Regions from separate parts of the Homo sapiens genome. Here all the other regions are linked to region 2. Evidence: promoter capture Hi-C in 16 types of primary human blood cells and fetal thymus (Javierre and others, 2016). All regions are on one chromosome and are shown on one strand. The core of a region is centred on a gene start or on the middle of the fragment in contact, and the rest is flanking DNA. Distances in the headings are between cores, read along the strand shown.

Region 1 (4,265 bases), core at 1,508-4,007, 1.3 Mb before region 2:
AAGAACTAAGTTCCAGGAAGAAGGTGATTGAGAAAGGGGAGTAGCTGCAGTAAGCTCTATCATGCAGGAAGGCCTTAAACAAAATGAAAAAGGCATCAAGTAAAAGATCAATAAATTTGATTGCAACAAACTTTTAAACATTTATAATGACCAAAGACATCATTAGCGTTAATCAGCAAACTAAAAGATATCTGCCACATACATAAAAATAATTTGGGTGCATGGCTCACGCCTGTGATCCCATCACTTTGGGAGGCCAAAGGGGGAGGATCACCCGAGGTCAGGAGTTCGAGACCAGCCTGACTAACATGGTGAAACCCTGTCTCTACTAAAAATACAAAATTAGCTGGGTGTGGTGGCACATGCCTGTAATCCCAGCTACTTGGGAGGATGAGGCAGGAGAATTGCTCGAAACCAGGAGGCAGAGGTTGCAGTGAGCTGAGATCACACCACTGCACTCCAGCCTGGGCAACAAGAATGAAAACTCTGTCTCAAAAAATTTAAACAATAATAAAAATAATAATTTGTATCCAGAATATTCAAAGAATTCCTACAAATCAATAAGAAAAAGACAAAATAAAAGGAAAATGGGCAAAGGGTGTAAACAGACAATTCCCTGCATTTACAAATGATCAGTTAATATATGAAAAGATGCTCAAAATGTAAAAAAAAAATTAACCTTACTAGAAATCAAGAAAACAAGAATTGAAACAAGATAAACTCTATATTTTTAGCCCAACAAATTAAGAAAATTATGATGAATTGCAGCAACCTACTGTTAGTCAGCTGGGGTAGGAGAATCCCGGGGCATATCCTAACGAGCTGCTGATGGGAGTGTAACTTGGTAGAGCCACTTTGGAGGGCAAGGACCTAACAAATTAAAAAATGTATGTACACCATGACCCAGCATCTACAACCCAACATCCACCCTAGAAAACTACACACACGCACAAGGGAAGATTTACGTAAAATGATATTCAATGAAGCATTGTGTGTGACAGCAAACTCGAAATAACCTAAACAGCTATCAGCTAGAAATGGCCAGGTACTCTACAGCACTTACATATAACAGAATATACACAGCACTCTTAATAATACTATTTTAAATAATTCTGGGTAAAAAAATAAGTGGCAGCATTAGTACCATGTACTATTTTTACATATACACATGTAAAAATATGTATGCAAAATTTATATGTATACATAAAAAATCTATGTGTATATGTAAAAAAGGTATGTGTTATATGGTATAACATATATGTTATGTAAAACATATACATAAGCATACATATACATTTTATATAAAACTTTTTTTACAAAAAATGTTTTACAAAGAAGTATTGTTTATTTTCTATGGATAGATTCAGTAGGCATGTTTTGCATGCAAAATAATTGATAACAGTGGTTACCTCTTGGGAGAGGTGAAGGCCGTTGGAGAGAGGATCAATGAACACTTAAGTGCTTTAAAAAAATAATTATTAAGTATATTGGAATATAAAGGAAACCATATACATCCAGCTGTGTCAGGCTTTTTACCAACATGAGTTTCAACACAGGCCTCTACATAGTCTTGGCTTTTTTAGGCACTGATAATAAAGTAAATTTTTATTTGAAAATTCTTGAATAAAGGTTCTTGCTGGTCATACAGTATATTATGTTTTAATCAACAAACTTTAACAGCCCGGAATTTATTATTAGTAATAATGTGTTATATATTATATGTAATGTAATTTGCTATATATTAATATATGTTACTATTTATTATGTATTAGTAAACTGAAAAACACCAATTTGTAAGCGATGAACTTACAAAAATTTACACCTGTCTTTTGCAACCCATAAATACCTAAAAATAACAGCATCTGATAGCAACTTTCTGTGCTGATTGTAGAAATTTCTGTACTGTCTGTACTGTCATGACAACCCTAGCAAAAGCTAAGTACTAGATTAGAGTGTGTGCACAGCTGATTGTGAAGCTGCATGAGAGAGGTGCTTTATTAATCCCCAAAGCTCACTACTGTAATTTATACTGTTAAGAATAAAAACTGAAAACATAAGTGCTTTCCAACTATAAAGTTCAAGTTCAAGGATTCATTGGAAATAAGCCAGAAAGTATATTTTTATTTTAAAAATTAAAACAAACCACCCAAGGAAAATAGTATTCTTAGGTAAAGTGTTTTGTTGTTGTTTTAACTAGCAAGGAAATTCTCAATTTCTATTTCACAGGAAAGAACAATGAAGAATTTTTCCATCACACATACCCAGCCTCCGTTTTGCCTTATCCATTCTCCTGTGTTATTCATTATGAACTCCGCAACAAAATATGAAATCTCCTTATAGGTATCCACATCCGGGGCAATTTGCTGTCGTAGAAGTTTCTTGATGAGAATACCTTCAAATGCAAATATGGTTACAATTCTTCCCCAGTTAATGATGCCGTCTTCAAACTCCTTTTCCATCACTTGGTTGAATAGTGTTCTGGCAGTGTCTACGGACACAACATTAACATTGTCCAAGCATGACTTCAGATTCTTTTCCACTTCTTTTTGGACTGAGAACGCAACATTTTGTAGCACTCTGGACGTTTTGCTTGGACCTGATCCAGGTTGTGGTATCTGTAGGACGCACTGCAGATAGTCCTGAGCCAGCCTGTAAATATATCCAAATTCACAGTCTGTCATCTTCTGCCTGGTGGAGAGCAAAGTCTTGAGCTGGCTCACCTTGAAGCTGTTGAGGCAATGTGCTGAGAATGCTCACTGAGCTTGACTGAGTTATGACACATGATGATACATGGAGGCTGGTGGAATTTCTGTTTGCATCACTTTATAATATCCTTCCTCCTAGTCACTTTCGTGCGTAGGCTGTGTTTCATGTCATGTATGAAAGAGAAAGTTTAAAATGTGAAAGAGGAAAATGTTTCAGAGAAGCCACTTCCTCATCCTGTGATTAATTCAGCTTTGCAAGTCTTAAATGCAGGATGTGGAGAAATTAGAATCCTTGTAGATTGCTGGTGGGAATGTGAAATGGTACAACCCCTGTGAAAATGTTGGCAGTTTCTCAAAAAGTTAAATACAGAATTGTCAAAAGACCCAGCAATTCCATTCATAGGTATACACCCAACAGATACTCAAATACTTACATACGAATGTACATGGCAGCACTATTCACAATAGCCAAGATGTGGACACAACTCAAATGTTCATCAACAGACGAAAGGATAAATAAATTATGGAACATTATTCATCCCAAAAAAGGAATGAAGAACTGATACATGCTTCAACAGGAATGAACCTCAAAAACATTAGGCTAATAGAAAGAAGCCAAACAGAAAAGGTCATACATTATGTGATTCTATTTCTATGAAATATCCAGACAGTTAAATCCATAGGATAGAAAGCAAATTGGTGGTTGACAGGGGCTGAGAAGAGGAAGGAGTAACTGCTTAATGGGTAGAAGGTTTTCTTTTGTGTGATGAAAATGTTTTACAAGGCCGGCCGCGTTGGCTCACGCCTGTAATCCTAGCACTTTGGGAGGACAAGGCGGGCGGATTGCCTGAGCTCAGGAGTTTGAGACCAGCCTGGGCAATATGGTAAATCCCCGTCTGTACTAAAATACAAAAAATTAGCCAGGCGGGTGGCGTGTGCCTGTAATCCCAGCTACTCGGGAGGCTGAGGCAGGAGAATTGCTTGAACCCGGGAGACAGAAGTTGCAGTGAGCCAAGATCACGCCACTGCACTCCAGTCTGGGCAACAGAGCGAGACTCTGTCTCCAAAAAAAAAAAGAAAAGAAAATGTTTTGCAGCTAGATAGAGGTGGAAGTTGCACAACACTGCGAAGGTACTAAATGCCACTGAATTGTTCACTTTAAAATGGTTCTGTGAATTTCAAATTTAAGAAAAGTCTTAAACGCCATCCACGGGGTAAACCGGAGTAACGACAATTTGGAATGGAGACTACAAAACAGCCTGGGTGGCAGAGAACAGGGCCTCTCGAGGTGACTCTGGCAGTACCGCCCTTGATCATTTGTAATTGAGTAAGGATGATACCGAGAGGGAAGAAAAAAATACCCTCTTTGGGCCAGGCACGGTGGCTCACCCCTGTAATCCCAGCACTTTGGGAGGCTGAGGCGAGCGGATCACGAGATCAGAAGATCGAGACCATCCTGGCTAACACAGTGAAACCCCATCTCTACCAAAAATACAAAAAATTAGCCAGGCATGGTGGCGGGCACCTGTAGTCCCAGCTACTTGGGAGGCTGAGGCAGGA
Region 2 (4,959 bases), core at 2,460-4,959:
GAGCACATGCACAAAAGCTTCTTTCTCCTTCTGTGTTTGAGCATTTCTCTTCCTTTCCAGATGATTAAAAGGGAACTAACGTAGAGCACCATCCACGGCCATGCTGAGCACTCACTGACCTGTTGTCTAAATTCATCCTACCCACACTTTGGATTGATAAATTGGTGGCATTTATGCTTCTTTTATAGAGGAGGAACCTGAGGTTCCTCCTTTAATTAACTTTAATCTTCGTTGGCCTAAAAATCCTCTAGCATTGAGGAACCTGAGGCTCAGAGGAGAGGTTCTGCTTCATGCTTGGATGTTACAGCCTGGGGATTCTAACCATGTAACAGAATTTTTCTAACACCAAAACAATTTAGAGAAGCAAAGAGCTTTGCTCCTATCATAAAAGCAAAACTACAGGTACCACATTTTAGTGGTTTCCATGCATGCTATCACTCAGTCCTCTTAATTATAATGGACCTCATTAAAGAGGCTGAGGCAGAGACATGAGATATTTTTGTGTGTTTGTTTATCCCACATATCTTGCAGAAAGGGGACCAAGAGGTGACTGGAGGTAAAGAGTCAGAATTTCTAGGGGAGGAGCTATAAAAATGTCTAGACTGCCTAGGAGAGTGTTTCTCAAAATGCATTCTGCCAAATGAGACCGAGAATTTCTCTATGAGAAAAGAATTCTTTGTTGAAACACTTTGGGAATCCCCATAATACCCTGCCAATACTTAGAAATCTGCCATGCAGATTTGCATTGTAGACCCTCTAAATGCCTTTTGCTTAGAAATCTGCTGCCATGCAAATTTGCATTGTAGACCCTCTAATGCCTTTTGCTTTTTAAAAGTAGACAATGTCAGAGCTTTTGTTTCACCCAGTATTCCTCAAGTTTCTTTGATTTTAAAAAATTTTTCTTGGCCGGGTGTGGTGGCTCATACCTGTAATTCCAACACTGTGCGGGGCCAAGGTGAGAGGATTGCTTGAGCCCAGGAGTTTGAGACCATCCTGGGCAACACTGGGAGACCCTGTCTCTATTTTTTAAAAAATAATAGGAAAAGCCTTTTTCTTACACAATACCCGTTAATATGCCATAGAATCAGTGCCTTGAGAAAACTACTCTGGGGACTTCTGACCTAGGGCAGGTGAAGCAAAAGATTTTATATGGAATCCCAACTAGAATCGTGGTGGTACACTATAGGACGTTGTGTTGGGATGGATTCTGAGGGCTTACCTGGTCATTACTGCTGGTGATCTCTGCTCTGGATGGAGAAGGAGGGAATGCTGGCCTCTGTGCCAGCAGCTCCAATCTAGGACACAATTATCTTTAATCTTTGTTGGCCTAAAAATCCTCTAGCATTGACTAACCGGTTCAATCCTCCTCCAGCAAGTATGTGGACTGGACTTGTGTGATTTCTGGTCCTGACTTCCTTTGGTTTGCTCAGGTTCACAGAGTGTTTCCAAATGGGCTGGCCTCCCAGGAAGGGACTATTCAGAAGGGCAATGAGGTTCTTTCCATCAACGGCAAGTCTCTCAAGGGGACCACGCACCATGATGCCTTGGCCATCCTCCGCCAAGCTCGAGAGCCCAGGCAAGCTGTGATTGTCACAAGGAAGCTGACTCCAGAGGCCATGCCCGACCTCAACTCCTCCACTGACTCTGCAGCCTCAGCCTCTGCAGCCAGTGATGTTTCTGTAGAATCTAGTAAGTTCTCCCAACTCAGTGGAAGCCACATGGGCCACATCCTCTTTGGCCATTTGGGGCCAGACCTGATGGGGCTACTCAGTAATTTGTGACCCCAAGAATGTGTGGCTGCCTAGTACACTGCCTGAGACGTGTTTACATGTGCCTGTGTGCAAACACGGGGGCTGTATCACCCCGGGCTCACTTGAAGCCCAGGGCATCTGTGGCCTGGGAGAGGAGAGGATCCCTAACAGAGACCTTGTGTTTTTCTCAGCAGCAGAGGCCACAGTCTGCACGGTGACACTGGAGAAGATGTCGGCAGGGCTGGGCTTCAGCCTGGAAGGAGGGAAGGGCTCCCTACACGGAGACAAGCCTCTCACCATTAACAGGATTTTCAAAGGTGTGGGGTGTGTCTGGTTCTTTGCGTGCTCTCCAGTTGTGGGCATGTGGCCAGGCCCCCAAAAGGCTTCTGGGCACTTTCTGGGCTATGTTGTTTCCCACAACTCCATGTCCTCTTCATAGGCATGCTGGTCCTTTTAGGGCTCAATTCTGCTTTTTCTACTTTTTCTCCTTTGCTCAGACATCCCCTCAATCCCCCCTCTGTTTTGATGGGTCTTCAAAAATACCTAAGTCCTGGGCTTGGTTCGGGTTGGCAGGGCCAGGACTCTAGAGTGGGGCAGTGAGGCACTGGCCTGTGGGGCAGAATTTTAAAGGGGTGCCAAAACACTCAGTAACTCAGATCGATACTATTTTAATGCAGCGTGTTTTTTAAAATTAATTTTAAAAAAACATGTTGGACAAAATATCCAAGTTTAAATCAAGACAGAGTCTGACTTTGTACTGCACACTTGGCCTCATTTGCCTTACCCTAGTCCTGGACACGTCAGCTCCTGCCTTTATTTAAAATGTTGATAGATATTTTGTTCATCAGGGATTGGAGTACAAACCAGTCTGATATGGGGGTCACTTGGATTTCCCTGTGAAAATCATGAATGACTGTGGCTACCATGTAAAACCATCCCTGATTCTTTGGTGTTCCTCAAATTGGAGGTCTCCAAGCCACAGAGCAAGGGGTTGTAGAGAGAGGAGTACTGGACAGGGAGGCAGGTGGGCCAGGTTCTAGTCCCAGCTCTGCCTGTAATGTGCTGAGTGACCCTTCCCTTCTGGGCCTGAGGCTCTTCATCCATAAAAGGAGGTAAAGAGGTACAGGTGTGTGTCTGAGGGCTCTTAGGACTGAGACCCAAAGGGACTCTTAGCTCTGTCCCTCACCCACTATGAGCTCCTGCTGCTGACTGGTTTCGTTAGAGGAAGTTCTGCTGCGGCTGCAGAAACCCAGAAGGTAGAGTGAGGCTTACATGGCATTCCCCCCAGAATCCATGTTAACCCCAATTCTGGGAAAGATATTTCTAATTTTTGAAGGTCAATTTGGAAGGAGCATTGGGTTCAATGTCAAGAGGACTAGATTCCAGTGTTAGTTCTGCCACATGACCTTGGTAGCATGATCTTGGACAAGTCACTTCACCACCATGGGCCCATTTGCTTAAATGTTTAGGATGAGACTGCCAGCTGCAGGGTGATGTTGGAAGGAGAGATGCAGATTCTGGAGCCAGAAAGTCTGGGTTCCAGCCCAGGGCCCACCACTAGCAGCTATGAAGCTCTGGGCCAGTTACTTGAGTTCTTGGTTTCCTCAGCTGTTAAAAGGAAACACAAATAATACACCCCTCATAGGATTACTGTCATAAATGCAAAACATTAGCACAACGCCTGTTAAAATAATTGCCCAATACACTTTAGCTATATTTTCATTACTATCATTAGTATTATCTTCTACTCTTATCAGGATTTGTGAAGATCACTGTGTCAAATGGATGGGAAATTTTATTTTAATATAAACAGTAAAATAGCATTGTTTTCACTTGCAGCTTTGAAATAGTGGGGGCCATATATGGTTGTTTCCTTTTTTATGTGGACACAGAGGACTTCGTGCCAGAGGCAAGATCCCTGTAAATATTGTTGCACAAAAATCTCACTAGCTCTCTTCCCATACCACCCAATGCTGATGTCCTCACCACATGCGGAGAACAAATGTGAAGGGAGTAGGATATTGGGTCAGTGTCCAAAGCAGGGTCTGGGCAGGACTCAGCTCCCCAGAGTCCTCTATGAACTATGGACGGTGCTCCAGGCAGGCTAAGGCGTGGAGCTGCCTGATATTTCCCTCCCCTGGGGACAGCAAGGGCTATCCCTTTCCAAAGGCCATGGAGAGCTGGAGCCTGGTGCCCTAACCTCTGAGTCACCATCTTAAGAGATGCCTCATTTTAGAACCACCAACAAGCAAGCTCCCAAGGGATGGTGCCCTGTTCTCTACCAAGCTATCCTGGCTCTTTGGAGATCAAGGAGAGGAGGCAACTTTCCTTGTTCCCCATCATCTGTGGAACCCATTACCTTCTCCCTCATTTCAGGAGCAGCCTCAGAACAAAGTGAGACAGTCCAGCCTGGAGATGAAATCTTACAGCTGGGTGGCACTGCCATGCAGGGCCTCACACGGTTTGAAGCCTGGAACATCATCAAGGCACTGCCTGATGGACCTGTCACGATTGTCATCAGGAGAAAAAGCCTCCAGTCCAAGGAAACCACAGCTGCTGGAGACTCCTAGGCAGGACATGCTGAAGCCAAAGCCAATAACACACAGCTAACACACAGCTCCCATAACCGCTGATTCTCAGGGTCTCTGCTGCCGCCCCACCCAGATGGGGGAAAGCACAGGTGGGCTTCCCAGTGGCTGCTGCCCAGGCCCAGACCTTCTAGGACGCCACCCAGCAAAAGGTTGTTCCTAAAATAAGGGCAGAGTCACACGGGGGCAGCTGATACAAATTGCAGACTGTGTAAAAAGAGAGCTTAATGATAATATTGTGGTGCCACAAATAAAATGGATTTATTAGAATTTCATATGACATTCATGCCTGGCTTCGCAAAATGTTTCAAGTACTGTAACTGTGTCATGATTCACCCCCAAACAGTGACATTTATTTTTCTCATGAATCTGCAATGTGGGCAGAGATTGGAATGGGCAGCTCATCTCTGTCCCACTTGGCATCAGCTGGCGTCATGCAAAGTCATGCAAAGGCTGGGACCACGTGAGATCATTCACTCATACATCTGGCCGTTGATGTTGGCTGGGAACTCACCTGGGGCTGCTGGCCTGAATGCTTATAGGTGGCCTCTCCTTGTGGCCTGGGCCTCCTCACAACATGGTGTCTGGATTCCCAGGATGAGCATCCCAGGATCGCAAGA
Region 3 (4,600 bases), core at 7-2,506, 1.7 Mb after region 2:
ACTTTACAGGTTACAAAATATTTTCCCACACATTTAATTTGATTCTTCCACTACCCCCTTTCACCCTTAACAGACAAACTAGGCTCATCAGTGGTGTCCAGGGACTTCTGGCCACCTAGAAAGCTTTTCCCACAACCTTCAAGGCTCTACTCAATTTTCCCACGAAGGGTTCCCATCAACCCAACAGTGTTTTTTCCCCCCTTGCAAGAAAACCTAACTCTGGCTTCTAAACCTTAATGCTTGCTCCTCCCTCTGCTTTGTATTTCCAATTCCTTGGGGGCAGGGATCATTTATTATTCATCATTGTATCTCATGCAGTCGGAGCTAATAAATGTTGGTGAAAGTGTGTATGTCTGCATGTTGCGGGAAAGGGAGGAAAAAAAAATAGTGCTTGATATTTAAAGGCCTGTTATGGGACAGGGGCTGTGCTAGGAACTTTCGTTCAACAAATATGTAGGCAATGGATATGTAAAGATGAAAAGGTACATGGTCCTTGCTCTCAAGGAGCTCGGACTGCTGCGAGGGAGAAAGAACATACAAAATTATAATACACTGTGCTAAGTGCACCGATGAGATAGGCACAGAACATTACCCCACAGGCAAATCAGCATTGGGGCACTGGAGAATGCTGCCAGCAGGAGGCAGTGCTTGAGCTGAGTCTGAGAAACGGACTGGGGTTGGCCAAACAAAGATGGTGGAAATGGGAGTGCTGTATTCTTGACAGAAGGGGTGCGATCAGCCAAAGCAAGGGAGGAGAAAGCAGAATACAGCCTCCTGGGGAAACGCAGGTCATGCCGCTGCGGGAACATGAATTGCTGGACTGGGAGTGCGGGTAGGAGGCCAAAGGTCAGCACACGCAGCCCAAGGAGAGCTCGGCTGCCGCCGGGCCCAGCGCTCAGAAATCACCAGGTGGACGGCAGCGCAGCCTACTGAGGCGGGGCGACGGCAGCAGGCCGCAGCTCTGGGGGTGGCGGCGGCTGTCCTGAGCCCCGGAACTGAGAGACGGCAAGCCGCTGGCAGTGCCTCCACTCACTCCCGGGCCCCGCTTCTCCCGCGCTCTTCAACAAGTACCCCTGAGGCCCACCCCTCTGCCGCCACGGGACCTGCTACTGGCCTTGGTCGTCGCACCAGCCTTCTTAGGCATCTCGGCGCAAAGAAGCCGAGCGGAGCCCCGAGTATTGGGTGTTGCCCGAAGGTGCCTCAGCCCGCTGCGGAGCCGCAGCATCCCCGCCTGGGAAGGCGCCGGAAGAGCCCTCTGCGCTTGCGCAGGTAGCCGGCAGGAGCGGCCCCACCGCCCGGCGCATCCGCTCTGGCCAGAGGGCGACACCTTAAGGCCGGCGGGAGCGAGTCTCGTGGCCGCAGAACATGCGCGAGTCTCTTTTGTTCTGGAACGGGCCGAGCCCCAGGAAGTGGAGCTGCGGAGCTGAGGCCTCACCGTGTCTTGGCCCACCCTGCTCAGCTGATAGGAAGGTGTGTCACCTCTTTCCTAATCGGGGAAAGAAAGGTATTGTCACTTCTCAGAATTGGAGAGCGCGGCAAGGAGTGCACAGGGCCAGGTGTCTTCTCGCTCCCACAGCCAAGCAGCAGATGCAGAGTCCCACGCGCTGCCTGTGGCCATCAAGTCGATATAGAGCCTCGTGGCGGCTTGGCCCTTGTGAATCTTCCACGTATCGATGGCGCACCTACCTTGTGCCAGGCGCAGCGGATCCCACAATGTAAAAGAAGAGGAAATACACTGCGACATGTGATATGGAGAGACATGAAACAAATCAGCAGAGGCAAGATCATGGAGTCACTGAAGGCTTTCAAGCAAGGGATTATTAGCAGCCCAATTTGCTGGGTTTTAGAAAGACACCGGCTGCACTGTGGCCGACAGAGGAAAAGCCAGAGACAGGGAGATCCGCCCCCTAAATGGGAGAGGGTGGCCTGAACTAGAGTAACCGCAGGGAGGGTGGAGCGCTGATCATTTCAAGGATCTTCAGGAACTGAAATGATCAGAACTTGGGAATGACTGCATGTGCGAATAAGGGGGAAAAGTCAAGGAAATGCCCAGGTTTGGGGCCCAAGGAACAGGTTTGGGAGGCCGAGGTGAGGAGTTCAGCTTTGGACATAATGAGTTTGAGATGCCCACAGGACATCCAAATACAAATGTTAAAGGGGTAACTGAATATATGTGACTGGAGTTTGCGAAATCAAGGCTGGTGATAGAGATTCTGGAATCTTCTGAAAGCAGATGGCAATTGAAGCTATGGAAATGGATGAGAGAGTGTGTAAAGAGCACGAGGGCCCAGGTTAGAACAGCAAGGGCAGGTAGAGAAGTCACCAAAGGACACTGACCAGGTAGGAGTACGGTGTAACGGCAGCTAAAGAAGGGCGCTTCAAGAGGGAACATCAACAGTGATGAACACTCTGGAGAGAACATGTCACATGTAACGACTGAGAAGTGGCCACAAGATTTAGAAATCAGGGTGGTGGTGGTGACCCGGGCTACAGCAGTTTTAGTGGAGAGAAGGAAATGGAGATAATTGTAGAGAATAATCCAGTGACTTCACTGTGAAGGAGCAATTGGTATCTGGAGGGGCACATGACATTCAGAGACTTATTTTTATCATATTTGAAGATTGGTAGGAAAGAGCCAGGAGAAGAGAGGTTACAGCAGAGGACGGTTCCTGAAGAGGTAGGATCTGAGCTCAAGTAGAGATTGAGTTCTCTACAGGAGGCCTTAGACACTCCTTCCTTCCTAAGGGAAAGCTTAGGTGGACATGTAGCTGTGTTTGTAGGTTTGGTGATGGGAGGTGGAATTTCTTTCATTAACTAAGGCGGGGGAGGTGTTGAAGGTATATTGGGACTCTTGAGAATGGCAAAGGGCTGACTATTGCAACTCACCCAGCGGTAGACAGTTAAGGGAGACCGTGAAATCATCTATGATCCCAATCTATAGTTACCTTATTTTATTTTTGTTTATTTTTGAGACAGGGGGATGGGAAGAGCCTGTCGCCCAGGCTGGAGTGCAGTGGCGGGATCTCGGCTCACTGCAACCTCCGCCTCCTAGGTTCAAGCAATTCTCCCTGCCTCAGCCTCCAGAGTAGCTGGGACTACAGGCGCGCGCCACCACACCCATTTTTTGTATTTTTAGTAGAGACGGGCGTTTCGCCATTTCGCCCAGGCTGGTCTCGAACTCCTGAGCTCAGGCAATCCACCCACTTCGGCCTCCCAAAGTGCTAGGATTACAGGCGTGAGCTAGCGCCTGGCCTATAGTTACGTTACTTTAGATGCCTGGATTCACCAGCTAAGAAGTTTTTTTTTTAATTAAATTTTTTTTTGGCCCCAGTGCTACTACCAAAGCAGTCAGGAAGTTGAAGATAAGGCAGACAACTGGATTGATTCAGGTATATTTAAGTGGGTTGAGGGTTATTGATGAAATGGTTAAAGTTATTAAAGACCAAAGGTGGAGAGGGGTTGAGGGAGACCAAAAGTAGAGTCTAACTGGGTAAAGAAGGAAGTAAAGAAGAAAAGAACAGAGAGGACAAGGGGCTGCAGTCTTAGGTTCAATAACGGGTGTAACTGGAATGTGAGTGAGAGCTGGAAGAAACACCAAAGGTTGTGGCCAGAGAGTGGGATGTCTGAATTTCCTATTTCAGATGTAGAGCAATTCCACATCATGATAGGGTATATGGTGTGGCCATGATAAGGAATGGTGAAGGTTGCTGGAGGTAAAGAAGAAACTGGAAACCTAGGTGTAGCTGGGTTGTCCACATGGCCACTGAGGCCATGCAGTATAAAGGCTTGAGCAGAAGAAAGTGAGCCAGGTGTTAAACCAAAACCATATTTCCCTTCTTTGAAATCAGTTAAGAATTGAGGCACAAAAGCTGAACCAGCATTATATAGCAGTCATTTGTAGAATCTGCTTTGGGTGAAGTCACGTCAGCCTCAATTAGAGGTTTGGCAGTTGTCATGGAAATAAAGGGGACGTCTGTGAAGGTGAGTTACGATGGCATCTGGCTAGATGGGTGAGGAGAGCTAAGAGGTGCTCTGCTGTGAACCATTCAGCCTTTCCCACACGTGACTCAGGAGTAGGGGATATGAGGACTTCATTGCACCAGTGGGGAGGAGAAAAGCCATCCGCCCCATGTGCCACCAAACTGTGCACCTGACTTGTTGCTCCTGCCCACATCCCTGCCTCCTGAAGGGAGAGAGAGGCAGAGTGGGAAGACATATTGCCTAATGGTGAGGGAAAACACAGGGACTGATTCAAATGGCAGGAAACCCCTTGTAAATGTTTGTGGTGGTTCACATTTTATTGAGACAGGATCTCGCCATGTTGCTCAGGCTGGTCTCAAGCTCTTGGATTCAAGCAATGCTCCTGCCTCAGCTTCCTCAGTAGCTGCGCAACTACAGGCCTCATTTTATCTTGTTTTAAATAGAGTCCCACTTAAAAACTCGCAATGGAGAAACAGGAAAAGGGATTTTTAAAAGCATATAAACTAGGTGTATGTGAATAAATACACAGTGTAGCTCTGGGGCTGGTTGTTGGGGCTGGGATTGCGATGGTACCATCCTTCTTGTGAAGGATGTGTTTTTTCTAATTGGGGGATAATTC

What was found. The method cuts DNA at HindIII sites, captures the fragments that hold promoters and counts their contacts. A CHiCAGO score of 5 or more calls a contact.
Region 1: the fragment with the promoter of BCL2A1 here is called in contact with a fragment that was not itself captured in region 2 in 1 of 17 cell types (monocytes); the score reaches 6.7 in monocytes.
Region 3: the fragment with the promoter of C15orf40 here is called in contact with a fragment that was not itself captured in region 2 in 4 of 17 cell types (naive CD8 T cells, activated CD4 T cells, M0 macrophages and 1 more); the score reaches 10.8 in naive CD8 T cells.

What each region holds. Positions count from the first base shown.
Region 1 is chr15:79,968,439-79,972,703 of GRCh38, forward strand. BCL2A1 (BCL2 related protein A1) reads right to left here and starts at 2,758. Exons shown (of 2, transcript NM_004049.4): 1 at 2,262-2,758. The coding sequence starts at 2,681. RefSeq lists an enhancer at 2,182-3,381. The HindIII fragment of the contact is 17,831 bases long and covers 1-4,265 here.
Region 2 is chr15:81,304,478-81,309,436 of GRCh38, forward strand. It overlaps IL16 (interleukin 16), which reads left to right. Exons shown (of 19, transcript NM_172217.5): 17 at 1,431-1,689; 18 at 1,943-2,068; 19 at 4,128-4,959. The coding sequence ends at 4,321. STARD5 (StAR related lipid transfer domain containing 5) reads right to left here. Exons shown (of 6, transcript NM_181900.3): 6 at 4,576-4,959. Among named protein-coding and RNA genes, the nearest start is that of STARD5, 17 kb to the right of the region's middle. RefSeq lists a silencer at 4,077-4,254. The HindIII fragment of the contact is 7,388 bases long and covers 16-4,959 here.
Region 3 is chr15:83,010,383-83,014,982 of GRCh38, forward strand. It overlaps C15orf40 (chromosome 15 open reading frame 40), which reads right to left and starts at 1,257. Exons shown (of 4, transcript NM_144597.3): 1 at 1,115-1,257. The coding sequence starts at 1,225. It overlaps LOC124903542 (a long non-coding RNA gene), which reads left to right and starts at 1,359. Exons shown (of 2, transcript XR_007064742.1): 1 at 1,359-2,677. RefSeq lists an enhancer at 1,435-1,494. The HindIII fragment of the contact is 2,628 bases long and covers 122-2,749 here.